Linked DNA regions of Homo sapiens: region 2 is linked to region 1. Evidence: promoter capture Hi-C in 16 types of primary human blood cells and fetal thymus (Javierre and others, 2016). All regions are on one chromosome and are shown on one strand. Each heading gives the region's core, a stretch centred on a gene start or on the middle of the fragment in contact. The rest is flanking DNA. Distances are from core to core; before and after follow the strand shown. Region 1 holds the start of MAP4K3 (mitogen-activated protein kinase kinase kinase kinase 3). Region 2 overlaps FAM98A (family with sequence similarity 98 member A).

What was found. Contacts are between HindIII fragments. The CHiCAGO score rates a contact against its expected background, and 5 or more counts as called.
Region 2: a contact is called between a fragment that was not itself captured here and the fragment with the promoter of MAP4K3 in region 1, in 1 of 17 cell types (non-activated CD4 T cells). The highest score is 5.3, in non-activated CD4 T cells.

What each region holds. Positions count from the first base shown.
Region 1 is chr2:39,433,582-39,439,643 of GRCh38, reverse strand. It overlaps MAP4K3 (mitogen-activated protein kinase kinase kinase kinase 3), which reads left to right and starts at 2,359. Exons shown (of 34, transcript NM_003618.4): 1 at 2,359-2,752. The coding sequence starts at 2,657. MAP4K3-DT (MAP4K3 divergent transcript) reads right to left here and starts at 2,228. Exons shown (of 6, transcript NR_037875.1): 1 at 2,109-2,228. RefSeq lists silencers at 2,106-2,325, 2,396-2,755 and an enhancer at 3,086-3,165. The HindIII fragment of the contact is 5,405 bases long and covers 1,383-6,062 here.
Region 2 is chr2:33,592,928-33,598,989 of GRCh38, reverse strand. It overlaps FAM98A (family with sequence similarity 98 member A), which reads left to right. Exons shown (of 8, transcript NM_015475.5): 2 at 3,353-3,501. Among named protein-coding and RNA genes, the nearest start is that of FAM98A, 3.3 kb to the left of the region's middle. RefSeq lists an enhancer at 248-437. The HindIII fragment of the contact is 1,828 bases long and covers 1,241-3,068 here.

The DNA.
Region 1 (6,062 bases), core at 1,110-3,609:
TCTTTGTGAGCAGTTGTTTTACTTATGTTGTAACCCACATGGCAAATCAGGCCCTTACATGGAAATTCATCTCTTCTCAAAAGGACTAGCTTGGCCCTGCCAAAATGGAACAGACAAAACTTTAAAGACTGTTCTAGCCCTACTGAAATGTCTTTTCCTTTTGAAAGCAGTCTATTAGTGATGCAAATGCAAAGTTATTTGGACAGACGATAATCTCAGCAAACAAAACACTGAAGTCATTAGAACTTTCTTGTGCAGCTTTCAGTCCTGAGAATTTGGCTTTCTGGCACTAAAAAGGCAGAGGCCGGGTGCAGTGGCTCATGCCTGTAATCCCACCACTTCAGGAGGCCGAGGCAGGCGGATCATCTGAGGTCGGGAGTTCAAGAGCAGCCTGACCAACAAGGAGAAATCCCATCTCTACTAAAAATACAAAAATTAGCTGGGTGTGGTGTTGCATGCCTGTGATCCCAGCTACTTGGGAGGCTGAGGCAGGAGAATCGCTAAGAACCCGGGAGGCAGAGGTTTCAGTGAGCTGAGATTGCACCCTTGCACTCAAGCCTGGACAACTAGAGCGAAACTCCTTCTCAAAAAAAAAAAAAAAAAAAAGGCAGAGGAAAAGAGCAGACCTGGCTTCCATTTGGGATAATTTGTCAGGTCTGCTTATCTGAATCCTTGGCTAATTATTCTTGCGCTTGGCCTAAACATGCCAAACAATTCTCCAAATGTGGACAAACTGAAGGAAGGCCTGTAATCTGGGTCCTGGGCAAGTACCTTAAACAAGCAAAAGCAAGACCTTTGGCTATGGAATAACATTTATAGTCAGGAGTTTCTCAAGATACCAGAGCCTGAAGGTAGATCCATCGAGAAGATATTCAATGATATGCACTCCTAAGGCAATAATTTAAGTGATACTTTCATATTACTGATGCTTTAAAATTTAATAATTAAAAATTACACAACTGAAAGGCTACTTATATAGGTGAAGAGATAACCATTTTCAAACATCAATTTAGTCAACAGATACTCAAAGTAAACAATTTGAGAATTTAGTACATATGCAATTTTCCTATGAGCAAAAGGATTCAAAAGATTTTTTGAAAAAGTATGAAGCAGTTAACTCTAAGTAGTTTGCTCTACTATTAATTTATTATACTTATCCTTAACAGGTTTGATGAGACCTAGTTTCTCAGGAGCCACGAGGTATTAGGGAATATTAGTGGTTAGAAGGTGTGGTGCCTAAGGGGATTAGGAAAGCATTTCTGAAGCAAAACTCCAACGTGGTATTGCCAAAGTGGCCATCACCTAATTGATTAAAGCTCCTGCAAATGTCTATTGGGAAGTTCAATGAGAACAGAAAAATAACCTTCCATTACCCTCAAGCTTTCTTGGGCAAGTATTAACAATCGGAGCTGGAGTCCACATAGCTCAGATGTAAGACGCGCAATCTGGGTCTTAAGCAGGGTGGGGTTTTTGGGTAGGTAAGGTCACAGCTAAAGAGCTTCCGGATCGTCACGTGTTTATATTTCAGGTGCGGTAATAGATCTAGTCCACTCTCCACCCCTTCTTTACAGGGTTGCTTGACAGCCTGCGCAGTCCCCGCCCGTCTTTGATAATCCAACCCTCTTCGAAGAGGGAGGTCAATCACTGCTTTAGTTCTGCGCTCTGCCTGCCTCCCACGCGGGATGGTGGGCAGCTGTTCCGCGTGTTTTCCTCCCGGAGCTTTCACGCTCTGCCCACTGCACACACCTCCCTCGCGGCCCTCCTGGCCTGCCCTCCTTTGCACCCTGGCAGGCCAACTCCAAGGGTCCGAGTGTCGGTGACAGGGGCAAGCAAGCACAGCTCACTTTTCCTGGGGGTTTTCCTCACGGTGTGTTTAGTGACCCCTCCCCGCAATCCCAGAAAGGCTGCAGCACTCCATGGTATCCTACATGTAGCTGCTTCTAAAATAATAAAGGCTGGGACATTGGCTGTCTTGGATATTACCACTATGCTACCTGCTTGGAACTGGGACCAGATAGACCAAGGTCCAACTTTGTCGTTAGGGGAATCAGAAACGAAAAGAAGCCACTTTCTGCTAGTCCTAACCCCGGTCCCTGGGCCAGGCAAACCTTTTCAAGCGTCCGGCGGCAGCGGCCGGGCGCGGGTCCGCAGAAAAGCCGAGGCGTTTCGGGTCCCAAGCTGTTCCGCCGCCGGCCCCGGCCTGGCAGGCGCGCGGAGCCGGAACGCGCAAGGGGTCGGGTGCGCGCCAGGCCTGGCGCGCTCCCTCCGGGATCGCGGCTGCGCAGTCGGGCGGGAGTCGGGAAAAGGGGAGGAGGTTGGAGGAGCCGGAGTAAGGGGAGGGGGAGGAGCGGCGAAAGCGGAAGCCATGTTGGAGTTTCACCCCGAGCGAGGGGCTGCGAGGGTTCTCCTCTCCTTGTGGGTGTGACCAGGTTCGGCGCGGCGGCGGGCCGCGGGGGGCGGGGACGATTGGCCGCTTGTCGTCGTCCGCAGCGGCGTGAGGGGAGCGGCGGCGGCGGCGGCGGCCGCAGCGTGGAGCCGGGTGATTGTGACCGCCGGGGGAGCCGGGAGCCGGCCGCGGCGCCCTCTCTCCGTGTGGCCCCCTGAGCGGCCCCCCTCCCCTGCCCGGGAGGGAGGCGGGGGGCACCTGGGGCCCGCCATGAACCCCGGCTTCGATTTGTCCCGCCGGAACCCGCAGGAGGACTTCGAGCTGATTCAGCGCATCGGCAGCGGCACCTACGGCGACGTCTACAAGGTAAAGGCAGGGGCCGCGCGCCGCCGAGGCCGTGGGATCCCGACCCGCAGCCAAGCCTGGGCGTCCGAGCCCTTGCCGCCTGTCCTCGGGAGACGCTGGCGCCAGGGAGCAGTCGGGGAGGAGGAGCTGCGGACGCCAAGGGCTCTGCTGCCTTGGTGAACAAAGGGCCGAATGTTTAACCCCGAGACCTCCCCAGCCCTTACCTGAGCCCCCCCGGTGGACATGATTTTTGCCACCTCCCTTCTTGCGCGCATTTCCAGGGAAGGGCAGAACGAGAGCAGGCCACACTGCTCATCCATAGTGCAGAGAAGGTCTGGGCGTTTGTTGCGTTGGCAGGGTCAGCGCGACGAACCGGACAGCAGGGGTCTGGTGTTGTCAAACCTGCCTGCTTCACGCCAACCTGGGGTCGTCCGCTCTAGGTTGGGAGCTGCTGCCCACCAGGCCTCGGTGGTAGTTATTATACTATGCTGAGCGACCTCCATCTTCCATCGACAGCTCTCAGCCTTTAGCGCCTTATTCATCCCCCTGTCAGTTTCTTTTAATTTTCCAGAGTAATGACTTTTTTTTTTTTTTGGAAAGAGCAACTTTGTTTTCTCTAAGTCGAATTGGACTGCGATGCCATTTAAACTTGTTTTTTAAAAAGTGACTTGAATACTTAGGGAAGGTACTGGTTTGACAAGGTTAGAATTCAAAGTCCAGTAGCGGTACAGCATTCCTGTTGTAGAGGGACCACTTCTAAATGTGGGAAGATAAATCACTCTTCCCTGGCCAACTCAACTCTTGGCCTCACAGTTACTGCCAAGAAGAGAGGAGGTTGTTGCCAAATGTGGCAGCAGTCTTGATTTAGTTGTGTATCTTCTTACTGGTAACTGAAGTTGAACTCCTCCAGTTTCACATAACACCTGAGGATGCACAAAGAAACTTAATTTTGCATTGGAAAGTTCAGTCTTAACTTTATTTTGCCCATGTTTAAGCAGGTTTTTACTCTTCAGTGTAATGCCTGTGGTAACTTACATATTTAATACAGTGCAGCCAGTGTTCTGCTTTAGTCTGATTTTCTGGATGATCTACTTTTCACCATCGTGGATCTCATCACTTTTCCTACTATGCAATATAGATATATTGAGCCCACCTACAATGTATGAGATACTTGGCAAGTAAGCACTTTGGGTTGTAGCAGTAAACGATAGACTTGGTTCCAAATCTTCCTAAGTGTTTCTATTTTTTTGGACAAGGACAGTATTAAATAGCCATTTAAATAATTATTGCCGTTTAATTTTGTGATGCAGAAAAGAGTATTAGGATCAGGGTTATGAGAGCATGTAATAGGAGGACCTGATCCTGTTTAGGGTATCAGACGCTCATCGCCTTTCAGCTGAGATCTCAGAGATGATTAGGCGTTGCTTAGGGTACTGGGGAGAGGGGATTACGCCAGATAGGGGAGCATGATATGTGAAGGCTCTGAGGCCCGATGTGAAAGAAGGCCTGTATAGCCTGAGCAGCCAGAGCGGGAGGGTGGCCCTAGATCTTGCAGGCCTCTTAGTTCTCATTAGGAGATCGGACTTGTTTAGGACAATGGGGAACTATTGCAGGCTTTTAAGCAGAGGAGTGACATTAGATTTAGGTTTTTAAAAGAGCTCCCTACTACAGCATGAAGAGTGGAATGGAGCAGTTGGGAGGCCACTGTGATAGTCTAGGTAAGAATAATGGTGTTAAGGAATATGGTGATGACTGTGAAAGTAGAAGTGGATGGATGCAAGTCACTTATGACTGGTTGGGGGAGTTCGCTTATATTGCGATGAAAAGTTAACTAAAACTCGATGAATGTATACGTTTTAGGTGGCAGGGTATACAGTGAATTTTTTTACAGGACTAATTGGCTGTGTACTTGCTATATTAAAAAGAACAGTTAGTAGTTAAGCCACATGATTAAAAAGCAAAAAAAAATTAGGGCCTGTAATTTCCTAAGTGTAATAGAGGTATACTAAGTTGGTTAATCTTGTCATTCGTTTAAAATAATGATAATACTAGCTGATGTTTATGGAATGCTTGTTACTTGCCAGGCACTATAAGATTTTTCTAATTAATCCTAACAGCAACCCTGTGAGATAGGTGCTATTGTTAACTCCATTTTGCAGTTGAATAAACTGAGGCACAAGGAGATTAACTTGCCAAAGTTGGTAGGTGGCAAAGCCAAAATTTGAACCAATTAGGGACTGTATTCTTAACCAATTGGCAGTGCTGCCTCTCTAAAGATAGGAGATGGGCAGATAATGTATTACATTTCCAGTGGAGAAACTGAGGCACACATTTAGTTTAGCATTTGAGTTGTAGCCACACTCTGAGTCAGTGTAGATCTTTAAGTAGTAGTTGGAATACCTAATTCCTGCTGTGCCACAAGGTCTCACTGTTTATGTAGTCTGCCAAGTGGATATCAGATAATAGATGCTTGGTCCCTGCCTGCCAGACTCTTCCAATACCAGTGACCAAAGCAGAGAAACTTCATGTGGTTCTTGACATCATGTACCCCTGCCTGCCAAACTCTTGTTTATGTTTTTGTCTATAATCAAGTTTATTCTATAAAGTTACATTTTTTTGTTATTTGTTTTGCTGTTTTAGTTTTTTCTTATTTATACAAATTAATTGTGCTAGAGAGAAGTACATTTTGTTTTCAAAAGCCAATATATATAATTTGTTCCTTAATTTGTCAGCATTTACGTGCTAAAAATGGAATGATTGGATTAAATAAATAAGAGATCCGATTATAGTCATTCTTGGAAGGTTGGTGGAGATTTTTATTTTGAAAATGTTTTCCTACTCAATGTAATAACATATTTATTGTACTTAAGGTGGCGTGGTTTAGTTCCAAAGCACTGAACAAGGATGTGGACAATCTGGGATTTATTAGCTATGTGACCTTGTGAAATCAACCTCTCAGAGCTGTTTTGTTGTGGAGATATTATTACCATCATATGCCCTTCTTCTTTTGGTATTGACTAAATGACTCAAATTTTACTTAGTAAGTAAGTTATCTTTATTTTTTTCAGGCCAATGCATATATACATTTTATCTGCACTGTCTAAAGTCGTATCTTGTAAGTGTCGTGTAACTCTGCAGGCTTTATCTGTCATGAAGTGCCTGCAGCTTGGGTTACCTAGGGACCTAGGAGCTGGCAACTGAAGCTCTTTAGTTGGGCCTCAGGAGGCCCATGGAGTGCTCTGAAATTAATAGGCTTAATGTTGTATGTATTTGTGTTTTTCTGTGGAGATGGGTTATAGCATTCATTGCATTCTTAAAGAGCTTCATGATC
Region 2 (6,062 bases), core at 905-3,404, 5.8 Mb after region 1:
GGTCCTCCAATCCCAACACCCCTAGGCCTGCCCAGTGCTCCCTGCAGGCGAGCTACCCGCAGCGTTTGTCAGTCATGCGTGTCATTGTCTGGGCTCTGATTTTCGCCACCCCCACTCCCCGAGCTTCTCTCCTCGCTTCATCCTCCTGCCCTACCCCTTAACCCCTCAACTCTAAAGGTTGCCAAAGTTGATTCTGCTTTCCTACTTGTTCTCCAAATTTCCTACTCCCATCTTGAGCCCCTCCTCCTACCCCACCCCACTTCTCTCAAAATTTCTCCTTTGCCCAGTCATCTCTGCATGCACCCAGGCTTCGCTAAGCCACTTGTATGGGCGCTGCATCTGTTCCGCTGGCCAGCTCGCTTGTGCATCTAACCTATCACCACGTCCCTGGGAACCACCAGCAGTTTGCTTTGACTCTGTGATACTCTGCCTCGTTGAGCCCCATTAGACCAGGGTCGTCTTCACCCACGAAGAACCTGCGTATTTGTTTTGCATTGTGTCTCTCCTTCTCCTGATATTTATTCAACCATAATTCATCAGTATCTAGAAGCTGGAAATAGGGTTTGTTATCTCACTGGGTCACCCAGATCAGTGTACTCTATTAAACTTGAGAACGTGGACCCTCTTGGGCTAAATGTGGTTCCAGAAACAAATTGTATGGTTAGATACTTACCTACAGGTACGGTATCAAAACAAAGTACAGATTTAGCTAGCTGTATTTCTAAGTAACAAGTTCTTTATCAAAATTTTCTCTTAGGTTTTTCCATGACAAGGAAACCTTTGAGAGAAACCTTTCTTTAGGAAAAAACACCTTGAGGATTCCCAAAGTCTGCCTATTTGAATAATTTACTACCCTAGTAGAAATTTTTAGGAACGAAGTAGTCTTGCTTATCATCTGTCTTTGTCACAGTGAAATACTATTGTTCTTTTCTTGGAAACTTGCTCTGAATTTTTATAAATATTCCAGACTTTAGGGGGCTTCTTTCTTTCATTAGGGCATATGTTAAAGTCATTCAGCAAAATAGTCTCTTTAGTTGACATCTCAGACTGAATCGCTTGTTCACACATGAAACCATTCATTCATTAGGACTTTTTTAGGAACAGTTTCTTTGTGGCAGTGTTAGGCCCTTAGAGTACAAGGTGAGGTGGAAGAGGGGTTCACAGGATACTGGGAAAATATGCTGTGAGGAGCCCTGAGGAGGGTCCCTTTACTGGGAAAGGAAATGAAATCCTAGAAGCTTCTTTCTGGAATAAATGACACTATAGTACTGTAGTGGAATGAGTGGAATGAAAGGAAGGGGGTAGACCTTATTAAATGTAGTCTTTCTGCATGGATAGTGGTCACTTAAGAATTGGCCACGGATGCTGTTTCTTCCCATTATTGTCTTTTTTTTTCCCCCTCCTTTTTTTAACTTTTTATTCTTTTGGGTACTGTACAAGTAATTGTTACTGTAGTAATTGTAATCACATAACTACTTGACATAGAGTGTAATGTAAACCATGGATTTTCTGAAAACTGTTATAAATTTTAACCTTAACTACTTAGTTTGGTGGCATTCAAATATTAAAAGTCAGCCTTAATTAACTGAAATGTACTTTTAAAGGATTAACTGAGAAATATTAGAATTAAATGACTACCTTTTCTATTTATTTATTTATTAAGAGATGAGGTCTTGCTCTGGTGACCAGGCTGGTCTCGAACTCCTAGCCTCAAGCGATCCTCCCACTTCAGGCTCCGGAGTAGCTGGGACTACAGGTGTATGCCACTGATCCTGGCAAATAGTCATCTTTTATCTCTTACCTGGCACACAGTAGGAATTCAGTAACTACTTGTTGAATAAACTAATGAAGTCTAAATGTGAAACTCAAGGAGAAACTTCTAGGCCTAGTCTTTTGATTTCAGTGTCTAATAATACATAGTTTATAAATCTAGATGCCAGACTACATGTGATCTCATTTTTTTATGTATGATTTGTTTTCATTTTGTTGCATATACTGTATAAACCTATAATCATATTTTAAAGGGTTTGAGAACTGTCATTTCTCTAACATACCTGTAGTTCTCAACATTATATTATCTTTTTTTTTTTTTTTTTTTGATACGGAGTCTTGCTCTGTCGCCCAGGCTGGAGTGCAGTAGTGCGATCTCGGCTAACTGCAAGCTCTGCCTCCTGGATTCAAGCCATTCTCCTGCCTCAGCCTCCTGAGTAGCTGAGACTACAGGCGCCCTCCACCATGCCTGGTTAATTTTTTTGTATTTTTATTAGAGATGGGGTTTCATCGTGTTAGCCAGGATCGTCTTGGTCTCCTGACCTCGTGATCCACCTGCCTCGGCCTCCCAAAGTGCTGGGATTACAGGCGTGAGCCACCACGCCTGGCCTAAACATTATATTATCTTAAGCATATTTATTGTATCATCTTAAGTAAGCATTATTATCAATATTTAAGAGAATGTAAAGCAATCTGAATAATATGTATTTAAGATTACTTGGAGTGACAGAAATCTTATATTTTAGAATATTGGTGATTGGAGTTCATTATGACTGTCATCTTTTATGAATGTTTGAACATTTTTAAATTTTTTAAAATTATATTGGAATCACTTACAAAGGATTAGGATTCAGATGCGCCAGTTCATTAACTGCCAATATTTATTAACCTAACCTGACGTTTCTTTGGTACTAGAATGTCTTACTAGTCTTAACTGGCATTAAATTTATAAAAATGATATAAATGGTTAACTGGAAAGTTTTTACTTTTAAAGGAAGTCATTAAAAACCTAACTAAGCCTGGGCAACATAGTAAGACCCCTGGCTATTTTATAAAAAATAAAAAAAAAGCCAGGTTTGGTGGCTTGTGCCTTCACTGCACTTCAGCCTATGTGACAGTGCAAGACCTCATCTCAAAATAAAAACATAATCTAGTTGTTTTCTGGAAAATTTTTAGAAAAGATAACCTAAGTTTTATTTCTGAAATAAGTTACAGTATAATTAGCTATTACTTGTTAATTTGCTTTTAATACTCAATTCAATTACAGTAAGAAAATAAATCTTTTTACAATGGAAGCTTTTAGTAAATGTACAGAAGTTGACATAATTTAGTAGTATATGCAATTCTGTTAGATATTCACCTACATTTTGAAAGGTTGAAATGCAGCTACCATTTAGCTGCTTTTTGTAATGGTTCAGTATAGTTCTAAATTATGTTTATATTTGTCCATTTAAAATAAAGATAAGTACTAACTTATCTTTATTAAATTATTGCTTATATAAATAAGACATAGATATGTTTTATCTGTAATATATTAGGTATGATTGTATTTTCTTCTGAAATGTAATTTCTTGCTCACCAGTTACAAGGGCCCATTGTTGGAAGATGGAGCGCTCTCTCAGGCAGTCTCTGCTGGAGCCAGTTCCCCCGAGTTTACCAAACTCTGTGCTTGGCTGGTGTCTGAATTAAGAGTGCTCTGTAAACTAGAGGAAAACGTGCAAGCAACTAACAGTAAGTAAACATTCACTTTTAGGTACAAAGTATAAAAATAACATTGAGGTATTGTCAACTGAACATTATCAATACTAAAGCTGAAAGTTGCAAGTTTTTGTAAATGTAAAAAATTTGTAAAGAAGCCAAGATTTTTTTTCCGTCCGTTGTTTTTAGAGGTGATTCAGAAGTTGAAATACCAGAATAAAGTCATGTAACTTAAAAATTCGTGGATGCTGAAAAGACCCTATTACTGGGATACAGAGAAATGGAGACCACAAGCATAGAATGTATGAACTTCCTATATTTTGTAAGATGTTAAATGTAAGATCCTAGATTGATGGCTAGAACTAGATACTGGGATATTTTTCTTTTAGGATTACCAGATTCTAGAAGCATCTATAGCATGTAGAGTAAATGCATTATTATTCTGTTATGCTTGGGGAGAAAGAGAACACTTTGTTAAGACATTTTGTTTATCATAAGAATGCATCGTTAGATACATCACAGTGAGATCCAGGACAATCAAATTTATGGATCTGAGAGCTGTTCTGCATTTACCAATTTTGTTTCCACTGTTGCACTAGTTTGTCGACACTGCAAAAGAGGCAAAAGCTTGGAACCTACCACTCTACCATCTGGTTCCTTCCTGCTGTAGGTAAACCTATAATAGGAGACCAAGGAAAATACTCACCTGTTAACCCACCCTTATGGAGAGCTATACATATAATTCCTTTTTTTCCACATAATCACGTTTTGAAGAGCTCACCTTCTTGCATGCTAGTGTGTGTGTGTGTGTGTGTATATATATATGTGTATATATATGTGTGTATATATATATGTGTATATATATGTGTGTATATATATATGTGTATATATATGTGTGTATATATATATGTGTGTATGTATGTGTGTGTGTGTGTGTGTGTGTGTATATATATATATATAATTTTTTTTTTTTTTTTTTTTTTTTTAACTTTATGTTCCGGGATACATGTGTAGAACATGCAGGTTTGTTACATAGGGATACGTGTGCCATGGTGGTTTGCTACACCTATTGACCTGTCCTCTGAGTTCCCTCTCCTCACCCTCTAACCCGCAACAGGCCCTGGTGTGTGTTGTTCCCCTCCCTGTGTCCATGTGTTCTCATTTTTTAACTCCCACTTAGTGGTGAGAACATGTGGTGTTTTTTTTCTGTTCCTGTGTTAGTTTGTGGAGGATGATGGCTTGCATGCTGGTATATTTAATGTGTACGTGTTAGTTGCATTCAGTTCTAATTATTAAGGAGAGTATAGTGTAACAGTAATGATAGCAACAGCTTACATTTATTGTGTACTCACTATGTTCTAAACACTTTATATGTGTTAACTCATTAAACCTCAGGGCAACCCTATGAGGCAGGTTTTATTACTGTTATACCTTTAACAAGAAAGCCCAGAGAATTTAAATACATTGCCTGAGGTCATACAACCTGTAGGGGTGAAGCCTGGTTTCAACCCCAGAACAGTAGTCAAGTTCTGAGCCAGTGTGCTTGAACACTGTGCTATACTGCCTCTTGACCAGATGTTTGAGAGACTGTAGGAACCTTTGAAAACACCAGTACTAGATGATACCTCTATTTAACCTGGAGCCCCTTTTTCTCAAATGAAACATGATACAGAAGCTAACATGTAAAACAGGTTAGAAGGTATTCTAACAAAGTAGAGACGAGGTACCTTTAGCCCAGCTCTTTCCTCCTCATCCTCCCAGCTGCCTCTAAAAGAGCTCTGTGGAACTCAAGGGCTCACAGATCACAGTTTGCAAAATATTCATAATGTAGGCTTCCTGTATTACAGATTAGAAAATGGACTCAGGTGATCAAGTGACTCTCTCAGAGTTTGTTAATTTCTTCCCCTTTGTGATAGTGAATAGAGAACAATCAAAATAATGAAGAAAGAGCTTTGTTTTTCCTTTGGTTCACCCAGTGAACTCTATACCTTTTTTTATATGCTGTGGGAATACAAGACTGTAAGTCATGTTTGCTGTCTTCAAATTTTTTCTAATTGAGAATGTTAGGCACAAATTAAACAACTGGAGATAAGTACAGTCCTTTTGTTTGTTTGTTTTTAGACAAGATCTCACTCTGTCACCCAGGCTGAAGTGCAGTGGCGCGATCTGGGCTCACTGCAACCTCTGCCTCCCAGGTTCAAGCAATTCTCCAGGTCAGCCTCCTTAGTAGCTGGGACTACAGGCATGTGCCACGACAACTGGCTGATTTTTGTTATTTTTCTTAGAGACGGGGTTTTGCCACGTTACTCAGGCTGGTCTCGAACTCCTGAACTCAAACCATCCACTCGTCTCGGCCTTCCAAAGTGCTGGAATTACAGGCATGAGCCACCGTGCCCGGCCAAGTACAGTACTTAAATGCTGAACCACTTTGTGGTTCACAGAGAGAGGAAATCAGCAAGTACGAGGGTGAAGTTTCAGCCAAGTACAAGGAAGGTTTCATCAAGGAGCAAGGCCACTGGGCTTTGATGGATGGGTGGGATTTGCTAGAGGGGAAGAGAGTAGAGGACATATCTGTCACAGGGAATAACTTAAAT